Regions from separate parts of the Homo sapiens genome. Here region 2 is linked to region 1. Evidence: promoter capture Hi-C in human tissues and cell types (Jung and others, 2019). All regions are on one chromosome and are shown on one strand. The core of a region is centred on a gene start or on the middle of the fragment in contact, and the rest is flanking DNA. Distances in the headings are between cores, read along the strand shown. Region 1 holds the start of MRPL4 (mitochondrial ribosomal protein L4). Region 2 has its middle 5.0 kb from the start of OR7G3.

Region 1 (4,923 bases), core at 955-3,454:
CCTCTGCCTGAAACACTCTTCTCCTGGATGGTTCTTTCTCAGCCTACAGGTAGCAGCTCCAATAACTGCTGAAAGGTACCTTCTAAAGAAAGAGCCACCCTGACCAGGTGCAGTGGCTCATGCCTGGAATCCTGGCACTTTGGGAGGCCAAGGCAGGTGGATCACTTGAGGCAAGGAGTAAGACCAGCCTGGGCAACATGGCAAAGTGATGTCTCTCCAAAATATACAAAGATTAGCTGGGCACGGTGGTACATGTCTGTCATTCTGGCTACTCGGGAGGCTGAGGCATGAGAATTAGTAGAACCCAGGAGGCGGAGGTTGAAGTGAGCTGAGAGCATGCCATTGCACTCCAGCCTGGGCGACAAGAGCGAAACTTCATCTCAGAAAAAAAAAGCCACCCCTTCTTCCTTGTTTTTCCTACCATTACTTTTTTCCTGCTATTACACTTCACTTATTGCCACCTTCTTCAGGGACTGGTTTTCCTCTCTAGTTCTATACCATTCCATACAGTCACATACTCAACATCTGAAACATGGCCAGTGCCCCATGCTACAATGTGATTTCGACATAGTTTTAAATACAGGTTAAATACATTATTGAAATCAATTTCACCTGTTTTTTTTTTTGAGATGGAGTCTGTCTCTGTCGCCCAGGCTGGAGTGCAGTAGTATAATCACGGCTCACTGCAACCTCCATCTCCCCAGGTGCAAGCGATTCTCATGCCTCAGCCTCCTGAGTAGCTGGGACTACAGGCTTGCACTAAGACGTCCGGCTAATTTTTGTATTTTTGGTAGAGACGGGGTTTCATCATGTTGGCCAGGCTGGTCTGCAACTCCTGGTTTCAAGTGATCCGCCCACCTCGGCCTCCCAATGTGCTGGGATTACAGATGTGAGCCACAGTAACTGGCCCCTACATTTTCTTTTCTTTCTTTTTTTTTTTTTTTTTTGAGACAGAGTGTTGCCCAGGATGGAGTGCAGTGGCGCGATCTCGGCTCACTGCAAGCTCCGCCTCCCGGGTTCACGCCATTCTCTTGCCTCAGCCTCCAGAGTACCTGGGACTACAGACGCCCGCCACCACGCCCGGCTAATTTTTTTTTGTATTTTTAGTAGAGACGGGGTTTCACCATGTTAGCCAGGATGGTCTCGATCTCCTGACCTCGTGATCCGCCCGCCTTGGCCTCCCAAAGTGCTGGGATTACAGGCGTGAGCCACTGCGCCCAGGGTGGCCCCTACATTTTCTTAGAGATGTTATGAACAGCAGGGTAACTAAAATGCAAACAGCCTCTTCCAGGCACCGAGGAATGGTTTAGTCTTTTTAGTGCTCTTATTTGCAAAAACCAGTTAACAAAGATTATCAACATTTCTATAGAACTTATTATGTGCCAGAATTAAGTCATTTATTCATCACAGCAACCTCCCGACCGCTGACAAAATAGGGACACTGAGGGACAAGAGGGGAAGGCAGGATTTGAACCTAATCAGTCGGGCTCCAGAATTCTGTCTCCCTAACCCTTAGATGATGTCACCTCTCAGGCTTCAATCTCACACAGCGCTACAGCAGGGGAAACTGTCATCATTCCCCTTTGACAGGTGGAGAAACGGAGGCTGTAGAAATACAGCACTTTCCCAAGGGTACAAGCCCAAAGTCATCGTGACTCCTGAAATCCCGCTCTTCATCCCTCTGCCACTCAGTTCACCATTACAGCCCTCGCTCACCTGGGCGCGGTGGCGAAAACATCGGGGTGCAGGTCGGCCAGGCCCACGCGCTCCTGCTCGAAGCCCCGCAAGGACTCGACCCAGGCCTGCACTGGGCGTCGATGAGTGGGTACCGGGAGCTCGACTTTGCGCAGCACGGGCTCCGGGAGACCTGGAGCGATTGCGGGGGTCAGAGGTTAGGGTCAAGGGTCAGACCTCTCTGTCGCCGCCCCTCCTGGAGCCACCCCGGTTGCCTTACCCTCGCTCGCCACCTGCTCCGGGTTCTCGGTCGCACGCGCTGCCTCTTCCGCCAGGGAACTCAGGCCCTGCAAGGGTTGGGCGAAAGTGAGAGACGACCCCTGGACACCCCCAAATTTCATCCTTCGACCACGCCTCCAGCCCCTGGCCTCACCTGGCTGCCGGTAGGCCGAAGCCAGGCCCGCGCCCCGGCCCGGACGAACTGCAGCATCGCCGCGCAGCCTCCCACGCCGCGGGAGGTCAAGGCCACTGGAGCCTCGCGAGGCGCCGCTGGATGACGTCACGCACGCGACGCCGCCCTACCCGCCGCGACTCCGCGCTGGAAAGCGGGGTGTGCAAAACCGAAGATGGAGGGGGTCCGACCCGGCGTGCCCAGACCTCCACCCCAGGACTAACCCCCAGACCCAATTTTCACTCCTGCCTCAAGGACCCTCCGTAACACTGGGGAACGCGACCTCACAGCAAGAAGACCCAGCTTCCGTAGGCCTAGCCTACTTTGGGTCCCGCCTCCGACGAGCCGGTGCAGGAATTCAGCCAATGAGACCTCTCTGGCCCAATTCAGCCAATGACTGTTAAGCCTGAAGGAGTGACCCCCGCCCATAAGTGGGCAGTTCTGGAGTGAGCAACTAAGGAATACAGCCAATAACGCTTAAACTTTTGCTGTTGGTCACGCCCACCGGGCCACGCCTTCATCCCGCCTCCAAGGCTGTCGGAGATGGTTTTTTCTTTATCCAGTTATGTGGTTTTGTTTTTTTATTTGTTTTTTTGTTTTTGTTTTTGTTTTTGTTTTTGTTTTTTTTGAGACGGAGTCTTGCTCTGTTGCCCAGGCTGGAGTGCAGTGGCGCGATCTCGGCTCACTGCAAGCTCCGCCTCCTGGGTTCACGCCATTCTCCTGCCTCAGCCTCCCGAGTAGCTGGGACTGCAGGCGCCCGCCACCACGCCTGGCTAATTTTTTGTATTTTTAGTAGAGACGGGTATCACCGCGTTAGCCAGGATGGTCTCGATCTCCTGACCTCGTGATCCTCCCGCCTCAGCCTTCCAAAGTGCTGGGATTACAGGCGTGAGCCACCGTGCCTGGCGTTTTTTCATTTGTTTAAAGGCAGGGCCTTATTGCCCTCAGAAAGCCTTCAGGATTGGGCCTGCCAGACCATGCCTCCCAGTTTAGATTCCCCAGGGCAGGGCCATGTCCCCCCGAAACCCCTCAGATTAGGTATTTGTGTCCCTTACCCCCTAGACCAGGGTCCTCTCCCCTACCCCCTTAAACCAGGTCCCGTCCCCTCTCAGACCTTCCAGGGCTCTCCAAGGACAGAACAAAGTGGGGAGTCCACAGATCCTGGAGTGCCTCCCTTGTCGCCCCCTAACAAATCCGAATGCTTATTTTTAGTTTCTTTGTTTTGGTTTTTAGAGACAAGGTCTTCCTCTGTCGCCCAGGCTGGAGTGCAATGGGCAAGATCATGGCTTACTGCAGCCTCGACCTCCAGAGCTCAAGGGATTCTCCTGCCTCTGTCTCCTGAGTAGCTGGTCTACAGGTACGCAAGCCCGGCTCATTTTTGTATTGTATTTTTTTATTTTGTATTTGTATTTTGAGATGGAGTATCGCTCTGTCGCCCAGGCCGGAGTGCAGTGGTGTGAGATCGCACATCTCGGCCTCCCGGGTTCAAGCGATTCCCTGCCTCAGCTTACCGAGTAGCTGGGACTACAGGCGCCCGCCACCACACCTGGCTAACTTTTTGTATTTTTAGTAGAGAGGGGGTTTCACCGTGTTAGCCAGGATGGTCTCAATCTCCTGACCTCGTGATCCGCCCGCCTCGGCTTCCCAAAGTGCTGGGATTACAGGCGTGAGCCACCGAGCCCGGCCCTAATTTTCGTGTTTTTATTAGAGACAGTGTGGCACCACGTTGGCCAGGCTGGTCTTGAACTCCTGACCTCAGGTGATCCACCCGCCTCGGCCTCCCAAAGTGCTGGGATTACAGGCCTGAGCCACCGCGCCCGGCCTAATTTTTTTTTTGTAGAGATGGCGGGGGGTGGGTCTCCCAATGTTGCCCAGGCTGGTCTTGAACTCCTGGGCTCAAGCAATTCTCCCGCATTGGTCCCCCAAAGTGCTGGGATTACAGGCATGAGCTACTGTGGCCCACCCATTTTTAGGTTCTTTACCATGTTCCCGATAGACCTCCAGGGGGCGCCACCGGATCATAGCCGGCTTCCCTACCAGTCCAGGGCTGTCTACTTGGAGGCCAGTGCGTTCTGGACAGAGCACAGCTGACAACGTGGTCTGTGAACCAACCTCATTTTCCTCTGCTGGAAAAGGAGGTTATGAGATTCAGTGACGTAATGGAGGCAAAGCTTCCCATGCCTGGTACAAGGTGTAAAGTCAATAAATAGCATTATTATTATTTTTTTTTTGAGACAGAATCTCACTCTGTTGCCCAGGCTGGAGTGCAGTAGCGCGATCTTGGCTCACTGCAACCTCTGCCTCCTGGGTTCAAGCGATTCTCCTGCCTCAGCCTCCCGAGTAGCTGGGATTACAGGCGCCCGCCACTACGCCCAGCTAATTTTTATTTTTATTTTTTATTTTTAGTAGAGACAGGGTTTCACCATTTTGGCCAGGCTGGTCTCGAACTCCCGACCTCAGGTGATCCACCCGACTCGGCCTCCCAAAGTGCTGGGATTACAGGCGTGAGCCACCGCGCCTGGCCTCTACCAAAAATTTAAAAATTAGCTAGGTGTGATGGTATATGCCTGTGGTCCCAGCTAATGGGGAGGCTAAGGCAGAAGGATCACCTGAACCCAAGAGATTGAGGCTGCAGTGAGCCATGTTCATGCCACTGTACTCCAGCCTGGGTGACAGACTAAGATCCTGTCTCAAAAAAAAAAAAAAAAAAATGTGGCCGGGTGCGGTGGCTCACGCCTGTAATCCCAGCACTTTGGGAGGCCAAGGTGGGCGAATCACGAGTCAGGAGTTCGAGACCA
Region 2 (4,923 bases), core at 738-3,237, 1.1 Mb after region 1:
GTATTTTTGTAATATTCTTATTTAATATTTTTAAAATTTTCTTTAATATTTTTAATATTTTTGATCCACAGTTGGTTGAGTCCATGAATGTGGTACTGGCAGATATGGAAGGCTGACTGTACTTGGTATATATATTGTTAAAATTGTCAGAATCAAAATGGAGTCACTTATTAAAAAAAAAAAAGGCTGGGTGTAGCGGCTATCAAAAAAGTCTGCACTTTGATAGGCTGAAGTGGGCGGATCACAAGGTCAGGAGTTCGAGACCAGCCTGGCCAACATGGTGAAACCCCATCTCTATGAAAAATACAAAAATTAGCCAGACGTTGTGGCGCATATCTGTAATCCCAGCTACTCAGGAGGCTGAGGCATGAGAATCGCTTGAACCTGGGAGGCGGAGGTTGCAGTGAGCCAAGATCGCACCACTGCATTCCAGCCTGGGCGACAGAGCAAGACTCCATCTCATGAAAAACAAACAAACAAACAAAAATGAAAAAAACAAAAACATCCTGACAAGTAAAGCTAGGGAAGGCCATGAAGAGATTTATTTCACTTGCATGCCTAATAACAAAAACTATCACAAGACTACAAAAACTATCACGAGACGACAAAAACTATCACGAGACGACAAAAACCACAACCTTGCACAAAAGGCTGTTGCAACCTTACACAAAAAATATTTCTGCAAGTACATCTGCCCAGCAACTGCCTGTCCAGCTTCAGACTGGCATCACCCTTGTTATTAGTTATTACTGTGAAGGATAATTATTTCAAAACAATTATGTAACCTTCCTCATTTTTCCATTAAAAAACTTTGTCTTCCTTTACCTCCTTGAATGCATACATAGTTTATGATGGCACGCGTATCGCTATTGCAATGCTTTCTTTGGCAATAAACATCATTTTCTTTTAGATAGCCTCTTTCTGTTATTTAGGTTGACTATCTATAGTTATATTGATTTATGTTTGTGCTGTTGAATTTCAAAGGAATTGAAATCAATATGCTGAAGAGATATCTGCACTCTCATGTTCATTGCAGTATTAGTCACAATAGCCAGGAAATGTAATCAACCTGAATGTCCATCAACATATAAGTGGATAAAGAAAATGTGGTATGGCAGGCACGGTGGCTCACGCCTGTAATCCCAGCACTTTGGGAGCCTGAGGTAGGTAGATTACTTGAGGTCAGGAGTTCAAGACTAGCCTGGCCAACATGGTGAAACCGTGTCTCCACTAAAAATACAAAAATTAGCCAGGCATGATGACGTATGCCTGTAATCCCAGCTACTCAGGAGGCTGAGGCAGGAGAATCACTTGAACCCAGGAGGCGGAGGTTGCAGTGAGCCGAGATCGCACCACTGCACTCTAGCCTGGGCAACAGAGTGAGACTTTGTCTGGAAAAGAAAAAGAAAATGTGGTATATGATAGAGTACTATGCACCCTTTAAAAAGAAGGAAATTCTGTCATTCGCCACAACATGGAGGAACCTGGAGAACATTATGCTAAGTGAAATAAGCCAGGTACAGAAAGACAAATACTGCATGATCTCAACCATGTGTAGAATCCAAAAGAGCTGATCTCATAAAATCAGAATAAAATAATGGCTACTGCAGTCAGGCACGGTGGCTGATGCCTGTAATCCCAGCACTTTGGGAGGCCGAGGCGGGTGGATCACGAGGTTAGGAGTTCAAGACCAGCCTGCCCAACATGGTGAAACACTGTCTCTACTAAAAATACAAAAATTATCCGGGTGTGGTGACGCTTGCTTGTAGTCCCAGCTACTCAGGAGGCTGAGGCAGGAGAATCACTTGAACCTGGGAGGCGGAGGTTGCAGTGAGCCGAGATCATGCCACTGCACTCCAGCTTGGGTGACAGAGGGAGACTCCGACTCAAAAAAAAAAAAAAAAAAACAATAAAAATAAATAAATAAAAATAACTTTCTGGTCTATTTTGCAACTTGCATATTTGGTGATATTCTTCTCTCTGGGGTCATGTTTTCTTATTCTCAAATAGCCTTGTCTGTTTTGAGAATGCCGTCAGCAAGTAATAAAGCTTTTTTCAGCTGTGAGTCTCACCTCCCATTTGTTTCCCGATTCTACAGGGCGGGTTGGGGGGTGTACATTAGCTCTGCCGTTTCTGACTCTTCAAGGAGGGCTGCGGTGGCTTCAGTGATGTACACAGTGGTCACACCTATTATGAACCCCTTTATCTACAGCCTGAGGAACAGAGATATGAAGAGAGCCTCGGGGAAACTCATTGGTAGGATAACTTCTCTTCCTGATTATGTTGTCCACTTTGGACTTGGGATTCAAAGTGGGTCAAAGACACAGAAATACTGGTGAGCCAGAATGCCTGACTGATCTATCACTGAGTTTTCTAAAATGATTAGATAACATAGTGGGTAAGTACATTTTAACTTGGGGTTGAAACATCACTTGTTCTTTGTGTGTAGCTCTGTGATTGTACGAAAACGAGTTCCACGGCCGGGCGCGGTGGCTCACGTCTGTAATCCCAGCACTTTGGGAGGCCGAGGCGGGAGGATCACGAGGTCAGGAGATCGAGACCATCCTGGCTAACACGGTGAAACCCCGTCTCGAATAAGAATACAAAAAATTAGCCGGGCGTGGTGGCGGGCACCCGTAGTCCCAGCTACTTGGGAGGCTGAAGCGGGTGAATGGCGTGAACCCAGGAGGCGGAGCTTGCAGTGACCTGAGATGCCGCACTGCACTCCAGCCTGGGCGACAGAGCGAGACTCCGTCTCAAAATAAATAAATAAATAAATAAAAATTAAAAATAAATAATAAAAAAAAATTAGTTCCATTCTCCAAGCTCAGTTTTTCTCTTTTTCTTTTTCTTTTTCTTTCTTTCTTTTTTTTTTTTTTTTGAGACAGAGTCTGTTCTGTCACCCAGGCTGGAGTGCAGTGGTGCAGTCTCGGCTCACTGTAGCCTCCGCCTCCTAGGTTCAAGCAATTCTCATGCTTCAGTCTCCGGAGTAACAAGGATTACAGGCAAGCATCACCACGCCCAGCTAATTTTTTTCTATTTTTAGTAGAGACGGGGTTTCGCCATGTTGGCCAGGGTGATCTCGAACTCCTGGGATCAAGAGATTCTCCCGCCTCGGCCTCCCAACGTGCTGGGATTACAGGCCTGAGTCACCAGGCCGACCACCACCACATTTCTTATCAACCCTGGGACAACACATTCTACCCTTAACGCTACTTCATTTCCTGCTCACTTTCCACAGAGTCAGCAAACTTTCCCCAAGGTGGTATCTGAACACTTGCCTCATGACTTTTCCCTTTCTGAGTCTCTGAACATTTCAATTTTTTCTTTATTTTGGTTTTAGAGACACAATCTTGCTGTGTTGCCCAGGCTGGAGAACCAGAAATAGAAATAAAACTAATTTTTGTGACTTTCAATGTGATAAAGCAATAAGATGAGAAAACTTTTATTAATTTCTGGTTCAAAGACATATTTTAGTGTGACATAATCATAAATATTCATGTAATAGTAGTGCCAGTAACAACCAAGAAAAAAACAGAGAAAATTTATCAAAAAATAGCTACAACCAAAGGCTCACATCCAAGAAGCAACTGAAGTAGCTTACACACCTCCAGAAAAAGATTTTACTCTCTTTTAAAATGATTTCTAGAAATAACTGTTTTTTAAAAATCCTGAATAGCCAAGATAACCCTATGCAAAAGGAACAAAGCTGGAGGCATCACACTATCTGACTCCAAACTACACTACAGGGCTACAGTAATCAAAACAGCATGGTTCTTGTACAAGAACAGACAAATAGACCAATGGAACGGAATAGAGAACCCAGAAATAAGACCGCACACCTTCAACTATCTGATCTTTGACAAACCTGACAAAAACAAGCAATGGGAAAAGGATTCCCTACTCAATCAATGGTGCTGGGATAACTGGCTAGCCATATGCAGAAGATTGAAACTGTACCCCTTCCTTAAATTATATACAAAAATTAACTTAAGACAGATTAAAGACTTAAATGTAAAACCCAAAACTATAAATACCCCAGAAGACAACCTAGGTAATACCATTTAGAACATAGGCACGAGCAAAGATTTCATGATGAAGACACCAAAAGCAACTGCAACAAAAGCAAAAATTGGCAAATGGGATCTAATTAAACTAGAGAGCTTCTAAACAGCGAAAGAAACTATCATCACAGTGAACAAACAACCTACAGAATGGGAGAAAATTTTTGCAATCTATCCATCTGATGAAGGTCTAATATCCAGCATCTTTAAGGAACTTAAACCAATTTACAAGAAAAAAAAACCATTTAAAAAGTGAGCAAAGAACATGAACAGACATTTTTCAAAAGAAGACATATAGGCGGCCAACAATCATATAAAAAAAAGCTCAATATCACTGATCATTAGGGAAATGCAAATCAAAACCACAGTGAGATATCATCTCACATCAATCAGAATGGCTATTACTAAAAAGCCAAAAAATAACAGATGCTGGCAAGGCTGTGGAGAAAAAGGAACACTTATACACTGTCAGTGGGAGTGTAAATTAGTTCAACCATTGTGGAAGGCAGTGTGGGAATTCCTCAGAGACCTAAAGACAGAATACCATTAGACCCAGCAATCCCATTACTGGGTATGTACCCAAAGGAATATGAATCATTGTACTATAAAGACACAAGCACACATTATGTTCATTGCAGCACTATTCACAATAGCAAAGACATGGAATCAATCTAAATGCCCATCACTGATAGAATGGATAAAGAAAATGTGGTACATACACACCATAGAATACTATGCAGCCATAAAAAAGAATGAGATCATGTTCTTTGCAGGAAAATGGATGGAGCTGGATGCCATTATCCTTAGCAAACTAGTGTAGGAACAGAAAACCAAAGACCACGTGTTCTCACTTATAAGT

Evidence for each region. The method cuts DNA at HindIII sites, captures the fragments that hold promoters and counts their contacts. A contact is called where the count stands out against the background at its distance.
Region 2: a contact is called between a fragment that was not itself captured here and the fragment with the promoter of MRPL4 in region 1, in 1 of the 25 tissues and cell types used here (pancreas).

The regions. Positions count from the first base shown.
Region 1 is chr19:10,249,495-10,254,417 of GRCh38, reverse strand. MRPL4 (mitochondrial ribosomal protein L4) reads right to left here and starts at 2,204. Exons shown (of 9, transcript NM_015956.3): 1 at 2,108-2,204; 2 at 1,955-2,021; 3 at 1,717-1,867. The coding sequence starts at 2,164. RefSeq lists enhancers at 1,702-2,275, 2,132-2,541, 2,672-2,821, 2,276-2,849 and a silencer at 4,219-4,268. The HindIII fragment of the contact is 13,002 bases long and covers 1-4,923 here.
Region 2 is chr19:9,119,485-9,124,407 of GRCh38, reverse strand. It overlaps the pseudogene OR7G15P. Among named protein-coding and RNA genes, the nearest start is that of OR7G3, 5.0 kb to the left of the region's middle. The HindIII fragment of the contact is 3,758 bases long and covers 109-3,866 here.